Linked DNA regions of Homo sapiens: region 1 is linked to region 2. Evidence: promoter capture Hi-C in 16 types of primary human blood cells and fetal thymus (Javierre and others, 2016). All regions are on one chromosome and are shown on one strand. Each heading gives the region's core, a stretch centred on a gene start or on the middle of the fragment in contact. The rest is flanking DNA. Distances are from core to core; before and after follow the strand shown.

The links. Contacts are between HindIII fragments. The CHiCAGO score rates a contact against its expected background, and 5 or more counts as called.
Region 1: a contact is called between a fragment that was not itself captured here and the fragment with the promoter of PCSK6 in region 2, in 1 of 17 cell types (megakaryocytes). The highest score is 5.7, in megakaryocytes.

What each region holds. Positions count from the first base shown.
Region 1 is chr15:101,638,365-101,642,740 of GRCh38, forward strand. It overlaps TM2D3 (TM2 domain containing 3), which reads right to left. Exons shown (of 6, transcript NM_078474.3): 6 at 3,484-4,280. The coding sequence ends at 4,115. Among named protein-coding and RNA genes, the nearest start is that of TM2D3, 12 kb to the right of the region's middle. RefSeq lists a silencer at 2,919-3,078. The HindIII fragment of the contact is 2,280 bases long and covers 970-3,249 here.
Region 2 is chr15:101,486,454-101,490,956 of GRCh38, forward strand. It overlaps PCSK6 (proprotein convertase subtilisin/kexin type 6), which reads right to left and starts at 3,254. Exons shown (of 22, transcript NM_002570.5): 1 at 2,921-3,254. The coding sequence starts at 3,217. LOC124903566 reads right to left here and starts at 2,700. Exons shown (of 2, transcript XM_047433427.1): 1 at 1-2,700. LOC107987228 (a long non-coding RNA gene) reads left to right here and starts at 3,314. Exons shown (of 2, transcript XR_001751730.2): 1 at 3,314-3,871; 2 at 3,935-4,503. The HindIII fragment of the contact is 36,171 bases long and covers 1-4,503 here.

The sequences.
Region 1 (4,376 bases), core at 860-3,359, 150 kb after region 2:
GCTCACAGCAGCCTCTGCCTCCCAGGTTCAAGCAATTCTCCTGCCTCAGCCTCCTGAGTAGCTGGGATTACAGGCACCTGCCACCACGCCCACCTAATTGTTTTGTATTTTTAGTAGAGACGGGGGTTTCACCATGTTGGCCAGGCTGGTCTCGAACTCCTAGCCTCAGGTGATCTGCCCGCCTCGGACTCTCAAAGTGCTGGGATTGCAGGTGTGAGCCACCACGTCTGGCCTCCAGTGAGACTTTCTGAGTTTTGTTGCGCCAGCAGGGCCATTTGCGGGAGTAATCTTACACACCTGAGCAATAATTTTTTTTCCCTGTATTCACAATTTTTTGACGTTTTTGGCATTTGGCTGTATCCTTTTGCTTGTTCGCTGTGGAGTTTTCATTTGTTTGCTGGTTTTGGGCAGGAAGGAGGTGCTGGCTTTTCCTACAGTGTGTTTATCATTTAAGTATTTGAGAAGGGAGATGCTGCAATCCAGCTGCACTCTACCACTTTAAAAATTCTCAGCAATACTTTTAGGTGTTTAGCTTACTCCCAGCAATTCCTCCTTACTCATTCATCAAACTCCTAGTCACTGTGCACCTGCTGCATGGCCGGCAGGGCTCTCAGAGCTGAGCTACAGCAGAGAACCAGAGCCCTGCCTTCGTGGAGCCTTAGTAAATTATGTCCACGTGTCTCCATCAAAGCGTATTTTGCATAAAAGTGTTGTGTTTATGGAAGACAATTTCAATACATTTAAAAGAATTTAAATCAAATTTGCCTAGGTTACAAAATTAACCAATAGGTCTAGTGCATAGCATCACTACAGTTATCATATTATAAATTTGCTAAGAGTAGATTTTAAGTGCTCTTACCATGAAAGAAACGCATACGATGTATATACAATAAAAGTTTAAAAAATGTGTCTACCCCCTAACATTCATGTGACACTTCATACTCTACCAAAAGGGCAGAACAGAGGGGAAGCTTTAGAGCAGGAGCGGAGGAATCTGCCTCCATTTTTCCTGGGTGTTTTTTTTTTTCCTTTTTATGCATATTCTACTTATGTAGTGCCTTCATTTTCAGGCTTTTTCAATGTTGTATTTGAGAAGCTGCATCAGGTACAGCTCATTTTCCACTCATTGCTTACAGGATGAATTAAAATCATTTGCATATTCCGTAGCTGATGATATATGCCCAAAATAAATGCAAGTCTGGCATAAGGCATTAAAAAAAAAGTACAGAGAAATGAAGTTGTGTGGCATAGAGAAGGTATTTTTACATTTTAAAATCTTGAAGCATAAGATCTTTGAAAAAATCTTTTTATACGCACCATAAACCAGTTGTTCCTCAGCAATTTGCAGAAATCAGATCAACATGGTGTTACAGACAAATATTTACTTGAAGCCAATTTCTATATATTATCTCCTTGCAGCCACCTCAACTGCCAGTCCCTGGAATTGTACACAGTCCCTTCAAAACCTTGAGGACACCCGTGGCATTAACTCAGCAAATAAATGAGAGCCTCTGTGTGCACGGCATTGTTCTAGGGACAATGGAGGGGGTAGACATAAATAACCCAGCACCTTCCCGTGAGGCATTACTGGGGTAAATGGAAGAGAGCTGACAAAGCAAGGTAGAGATTCTTAAGGGGAAATCATGACAGATGGCCTGCTGCAGTGATAAATTCTGAGTGTCTAGAGAACTATCAATAGAGGATGGTTGACTGATATGGTTCCCAACCTGTGTGAACAGGATGGCTATCTAATCATATCCCTGGGTCAGAGCCCATAGCTCACACATGATGGACTGAGTATTTGTGTCTTTTCCACCCCAAATTCACATGTGGAAATCCTCACCACTGTAATGATGGTATCAGGAGGTGGGACCTTTGGGAGGTGATCAGGTCATGAGGGTGGAGCTCTCAGGATTGGGATTAGTGCCCTTATAGAAGAGGCCCCAGAGAGATCTTCCCTGCCTCTACCATGTGAGGATGTGAGAAGATGTTATGAGGAAGAAGGCCCTCACCAGATACCAAATTTACCAGCACCTTCATCTTGGACTTTCTAGCTTCCAGAACTCTTAAGAAATAAATTTCTGTTGTTAAGCCACGCCGTTTATGGTATTGTTATAGCAATCCTGAAAATCTAAGACAGCAGAGGAATAGAACCTGAAGGTCAGACTCCAACATGGCATTTTGCTGCCAGCAGAGGCCCATGGGATTTGCTACAAGAGATTGCACCCACACTCCCTAGTGCCCTTTGAAAGTATAGTTTTACTTTGCAGTTTCTTTTTGGGGCTGTGTATGAGTTCATCGTTCATAAATTTGTTTGTACTATTTGAAAATCTCTTCGTATTTCCTGCTAGTTCTGTCTCAGGCCATCAGCTCTATCAAAGTCCTTGATCTGAAGCATTCCTGACTGGCTTACATCCTTCAGGTTCCAAGGGCTATGCCCTTGTGCAAACTTTTTAGGATTTGGGAACAAGTTCATTTATGCCTCCTTTCATGGATTCTGAATCTTTGAGCTTTACTCTCAGACACTGCAGCTTCATTATCTAATTCAGGCCCCAGAGCCACAAAAATGGTTAATCAAGGATGCTGTTACCTATTTCCACCAAGGGCAATGCATACTTCCTACTAACTTCCCACCGACTCCCTGGTTCCACCTTGCATGGTTGCTCAACAGGGAAGTATTAGATTCTCTTCTACACAGAGCTACATAAGGAGACTCAGGAGACATTTTTATTATAGTTAGCAAAGGGGCTACTTCTTGAAGAAAAGATCGTCTTCTAAAGAAACACCTGCTCAATCAACAGTTTAACGGATACAAAAAGTGTGTCTTTGCTCTCAGAAAGAAAGGTCCACATAAACCGGGTTACTCCCATCCTGAAGAACTGCTCATGCTCTGTGACAAGTTCCTCGTAAACAAAACAAAACAAAACCAGTTTTTTTTTCTGTTTCTGGAACTAGAATGGGGAAGCAAATGTAATGGGGATGCGCCACCTAGCGACGAGAGATGGAACTGTCACTCAACTAAGAAAAGGACTGTGCTTTAAACAGCAGCAAGTGATCACTGAAACCTTTCAGGTAAACTGAAATCAATAAATCATCTGCTGAATGAAATATGCAGATATTTTATAGCTTCTAGATATGATATGGTGGTTAACAGTCTTCTGGATAATACACACAAGTGTTTAAAAAGCAGTAACTCAGATACCCACATTTGAAAGAAAAAATGCTAAGTTTTTAAATGTTTCAAAAGCAAGCTTGAGTAAAAATCTTTTTGAATAACTGAGTTTTTTTTCCCCGATAAAGGGTCTATAACAGATCTATACTCAAAAACATTTATATATTTCCACTGTGTCAATAAACCAGCCAATTATGACTCTGTTAGAATGGAGTAATGCCCTGAAAGATAAAAATGTTATTCTTAACAATAAAGGTAAGTTGTAATGATTATTCAAGATTATATTTAATATAGAAAACAGGCCCACAGTATTTCTTAACTTGCAATTTTATTAATTTTTCAGTACTCTTACCTTTTATATACTACTAAGAAAATTTAAACCATAACTAGACATAAACATTCTGCAGTTTAATTCAAATTTTCATATATACAGACCAGACTACATATGTATTACACTGCAAAACTTACACATGACTGAAGCTGAGCCTAATAACTTCAATTAGCCAACAACAGAAACACTCCCACTTCCTGCAGTCACAGCAATTAGCTAACAATAAAAACACTCCCACTTCCTGCAGTCACAGCTGAAAGACTTTTCAAGGCAGACTACATTTGGGCTGGAGATACAAGTGATGTAGTTTGACTTGGGCAATACAAAACAAAAGTCATAGGAATTAAATGGATTTTCAATCACTGTATAATTCATTCTCCTGGCTTAAGTACGTTTTAATTTTTTCACAGAAAAAAATATATTTCAGGCAAATAAAAACAAATTCCAGATTAGCATAGTTCAGCGTTTCATTTATCTTACCTTTATCAAGGCAAACAAAGTACAGATGCTGTACATTAAAAACATAGAAATATATCACTCACACCACATCAACTCCTACGGACAAAAGGGCTTTTTCTAAGCCCTGCTCCTTTCTGAAGCACACACCACAGCTAAATGTACAAAGAGCCATCTGCTGGTCCAACATAGCCAACTCCAATGAGCAGGACGTCTATCAGCGTCCATATTCCCAGGCCACCGAAGCTGAAGAGCTTGCCGAGGCCTTCCCGCCACTGGCCCAGGTAGAAACGGTCTGCTCCAAACCCACCGAGGGTGATGCTGCGATGGCAAACAGACAGGATTCCATGAGACCACCTCCACCCCAGCTGTGGCCAGTCACGGTTTAATCACCACATTATGTCAGATTTGAGAAAG
Region 2 (4,503 bases), core at 2,004-4,503:
CAGGCTCTTTTGGATTATCCATGTAGTTATGTCATCTGCCGATAATGACATTGGACACTTCCACATTTTTATTCCCTTTGAAATCCTGTGGTGTTACCTGGACTGATGAGTAGAGGGACAAAGAGAGGCTGTCTTGTCTTGTCCCTGGTGATGCATATTTTACAATGGAGAGGATCCACAGCCTTTATCAGGTGCTGAAAGGGAGCCATGACACAAGAAAGGTGAATAACCACCAGTCTAAATTACCTCTGGGCCATGTGAAATAAACTGAATCCAGTTATTAGTTGTATGGAAGAAAGTAAAACAAGCAAGAACCTTGAGCACAGCGACTATCTGGGAGAAAACCAGGGCTGCGATTCAGGCAAGTACAGAACATAACACTAATTGCCCATTAAGGGCTTGGAGAAAGAGTTTCACAAAGGAGACCTCAGAACAGAGAATACGGCAGAAGCAAATGAGCAGGGATGGAACTGTCAGAGGTGACATATGCGTACCATGTGAACACAAACAGCTTCCTTCCCTTACTTCACCCCCATTTACTCATCTGTAAGTCAAAGCTAATAATATCTACATCTTATTTATGAGTCACAAATTCTCCTGGCTGAAAAAAAGGCAAATAAGGTTTTCAAAGAGTTCTTATTGAGTGGGTAGAGGCTCAAATGCTCCAGGCCTTTTCCACATTAGCAGTGCACTTAGAGGGGGGAAAGAAAAGCTCGTTTTGGAATAAAGAGTAATAGGCCCTCCGTGAGTAATCACACACAAGCCTCTGAGACAGCTCCTATCCCCAACCAGCTAATCTCTGTTAGTGAATGTCACCGCAGTGCCACTGCCAGCACCATGCCTGAGTGACCGGGCTGCGTGGCATTCATGCTGGCTGCACTAGACAGAGCTGGGGAGACCCCGATTAACTCCCCAGAATATCCTGGGTACGGAGTGTGCATCGGGGCGAATCTTCTCTCCCATCCGCAAAACCAGGAGAGCAGACTGCACTAAGAACTCAGTGAGCCTGACAGAGGTTGTCTCAAAGGGGCGGCATGGCCAAGGGTTAGGCATTTTTATTCCCACAGATAGAAATTTCCGGGGAGAGTTACCTGTGCCTCTCTGCCTCTCTCTTGCAGTGTGAGCTCACAGCTCAATTTCAGCTCCATTCTGCTCATTTAATTTTAGAATCCCAAAACCCAGGCACTTTGTAATTTATCGCGTAGTTTAAGAGTCACTTTTAGCTGAAGACAAATTGCTGGGCCACCTGGGCACAGCAGCGAAGTGTGGCAGGAGCCAGGGGCACTACGCAAACATGAGGAACACCTTCTTCAGCCTGGACAATCAGCCAGGGAGAGTCAAGAACTACAGAGACAAACGAAGTCAGTGCTACCCGACGGCAAAATCTGAAATCACAGGATGTTTGGAGGGCCTTGAGTGGTTAAAAAAACTAAATATCTATATGGATATACATGTGCGTATATGTATGTGTGTATATGTGTATATATGTAACATTTTATATATATATATGCATATATTTAAAAGGTCTCCAAAGATGTGCTAGCATTCTTTCAGTAAACTCGAACCTGCCTTGTGAAGATTCCTTCATTCGAATGGTGGAATCCACCCCTCCAGCCACACACCTAATAGTACATCAACGTGGGGCTTGGGATGCAGAACTAATGTCATTTCTATCAATCAGGGACGCCACCACACCTTGCTGGCTTCTGCCACGGATAACGATGAAACTACATTTAACACTGCCTGGCACTAAGGTTTAGAGTTATGAGTCGGTGCTTCCCTGTCACTTCACTTAACCCTCTGAGTGTGTAGTTTGTAGATTTGTTAACTGCACTGAGAGGTCCCCTGGTGTGACCTCAAAATAACGGCCTCTCCAGGAGCCATAAACATGGATCAACCCCAACTCACCGCCCCTCAGCCCGGTAGCTGGTTGAGAGAGGAAAAAGGGACCCGCCGGGAGGTCCTTTGAGGGTAATGCCGCCTTTGTGCCCAGGGCGTGGCCTGCTTGCTCACTGACAGAAGAGGGGACAGCCGAGGGCTGCGGGGCTGGGAGGGCCCCGTGGGGGCCGGTGAGGGTCAGGCCCCGGTCCAGGCTCTGTGGCAACGCAGCATTAGATCTTTCCGACAACCCAGCGGTGTAGACATTGCCACTGACTGCAAAGGAGCTTGTCAGGGGAGCGACTTGCCAAAGGTCACACCGCTCGGCCATCAGAACCGCGGCAGAAGCCCCCACACAAAGCGCCCTCCCTCCGCTCCTGGAGAGGTTTTAAACCCAGGACCCCCGGCCCTGCGCTGTCCCAAGGCCTCTCCGACGGCGGCCGGGCTCCAGGGTGCAGGCTCCCGGCCATCTACCCCCGGGAGCCGCGGACACCGAGGGAGCGCGAGTCCCCGAGACGCCGGGCCACGCTCATGTCACCCAAGCAGCGGCCGCGGCCGCCTTGGCGCGCGCACCGGGTCCGGAGCTCGCGCCGCCCGTCGAGGGCAGAGGGGCCGCTCCCCCGCGGGGGAGAGCCGGGTGGGCGCCCAGGACCCAGCGGCGGACGGCGCGCGACGCCTGAGGCAGCCCAGACTCCCCCGGAGCCCGGCAGGTGTCCGCGCCGCCCCGGCTTCTGAGGCCACACTTCCGAGCGCGGGGTTGGGCGGCACTGCCGGGGGACTTGCGGTCGGCGCGCCGGACCTGCGTGGGCGCCCACGCGGGACCCCAGTCCCCCCCACCCCGCCGAGTGTCCCGCGCGCGCCCCCCCGGGCGACACCCCCCCCCGCAGGGCGCCCCGGCCGCCCGCCGTCCCCAAGCGGTCCCGGAGCCTTCCCACGCGCGCGCGGGGCCGGGGCCGGGCGGACAGGACTGCGGAGGCGCCCCCCTCGCGCGCGCCGGAGGCCGCCGGGAAAGTTTTGGGCGCGCGGGGCCGGCCGCACTCACCTGGCCCAAGTTGAGGTACCCGTGCGCCGCCGCCACGCGGTCCGCCTCGGCCGGGCCGCCCAGCACTTGCACCGCCCAGTGGTTGGTGTAGACGGGGCGCGGCGGGGGCGCGGAGCAGGCGGCAGGCAGCGCCAGCAGCAGCAGCCAGCGCCAGGGACGCGGCGCGAGCGGCCGGAACCCGGGCCCGCCGGCGCCCCCCGCGCCCCCCGCGCCCCCCGCGCCCGCGGCGGTGTCGGTGGCGGCGGCGGCCCGGGGCGGCGGCCGGGGCCCGGGCGCAGGCGGCGCGCGCGGAGGCATAGCGGCGACAGGCTCGCGCGGCGCCCGAGCTGCGAGTGCGCCGGGGGGTGGAGTGCCGCCTTTTAAAGCCGCTCCGCGCCGGGGAAGCGCCGCCGCCGCCGCCACCGCCGCCGCCAACACCGCCGCGGGCGGGAGCCGGGGAGGAGGAGGCGGCCGCGGCGCGTTCCCGCCCCCGGGCCCGCGCTCCTGCGACCGGGCTCCGGGGCCGAGAGCCGTCCGGGAGGCCCGAAACGCCCCCCACCGGGGGAACTTCCCCGCCGACTTCTGGGGCTCTCGGGACGCGGTGCCGCCCCAGAGGCGTCCTCGGCCCGCGAGTTCTGCTGGGAGCGGGGAGGCCCCGGCGTCTCAGGTGAGTCCCCGGTTCCCTAGACCGGCCGGACACCCGAAGGCCGCACTCACCTGGCGGGGGCCTCAGACGCCTGGCGGCCTCGCCCGCCTCCCTAGACGGAGGGCTCGCCCGTGTGCGGGGTCCCAGGGAGAAGAAGCTGCGGGGAAGACAGTGGGTCGCCCGGGACCAAGCCTGGCTGAAGGGACACATTGAGCGGGGCAAAGGCATGTGGCGCATCAGCCGGGCTCACGAGCGTGTACCCGAGAAACCACCGCACGGAGCCCATGGCGGAGGCCGCGGCCCATGCTGGGAGGCAGGCCGTGCAGGTGAACCCCCAGGCCGCGCAGGTGAACCCCCAGGCCGCGCAGGTGAACCCCCAGGCCGTGCAGGTGAACCCCCAGGCCGCGCAGGTGAACCCCCAGGCCGTGCAGGTGAACCCCCAGGCCGTCCGCTTAGCCTCGCTGCGATCTTGGGCAAATGACTGTGGTGGCTGAGGGCAGGCGCCCCACCTGCAAAATGCGGGGAACAGTGGCATCTACCCCGTCGGGCTGATTTGAGGATGAGGTCAGCTTTTGCTGTACAATAAGCTGTCCGTAAACGTTCGTTTTTATGAGCCCAGGGCCTGCCGTGTGGTAGGTGTTCACTAGACGATGTACACTCTTAAAAGCACCCACTGAGCTGGGACCAGCAGTAGAAAGTCAGCTGAATCATCCTCACCCCTGCTTCCTGGAGCAGCCTGGTATCCAGTGGATAATGATTTGAAGCACCCTGGAGATGGATGGAAATGTTCACACCATAATCAAGGAATTATGAAGGGTAAGGATCGCTGCTGGATCTCTTCTGTCATCCCTCCCAGGACCCATTGGTCCTACTGGCCCACTTCCAGAAAGCAAGCCATCAACCTGCTTAATATAGGAAGTAAAACAAAAAGGTCGAGAAGGCCTTGAGGTGGGAAGGA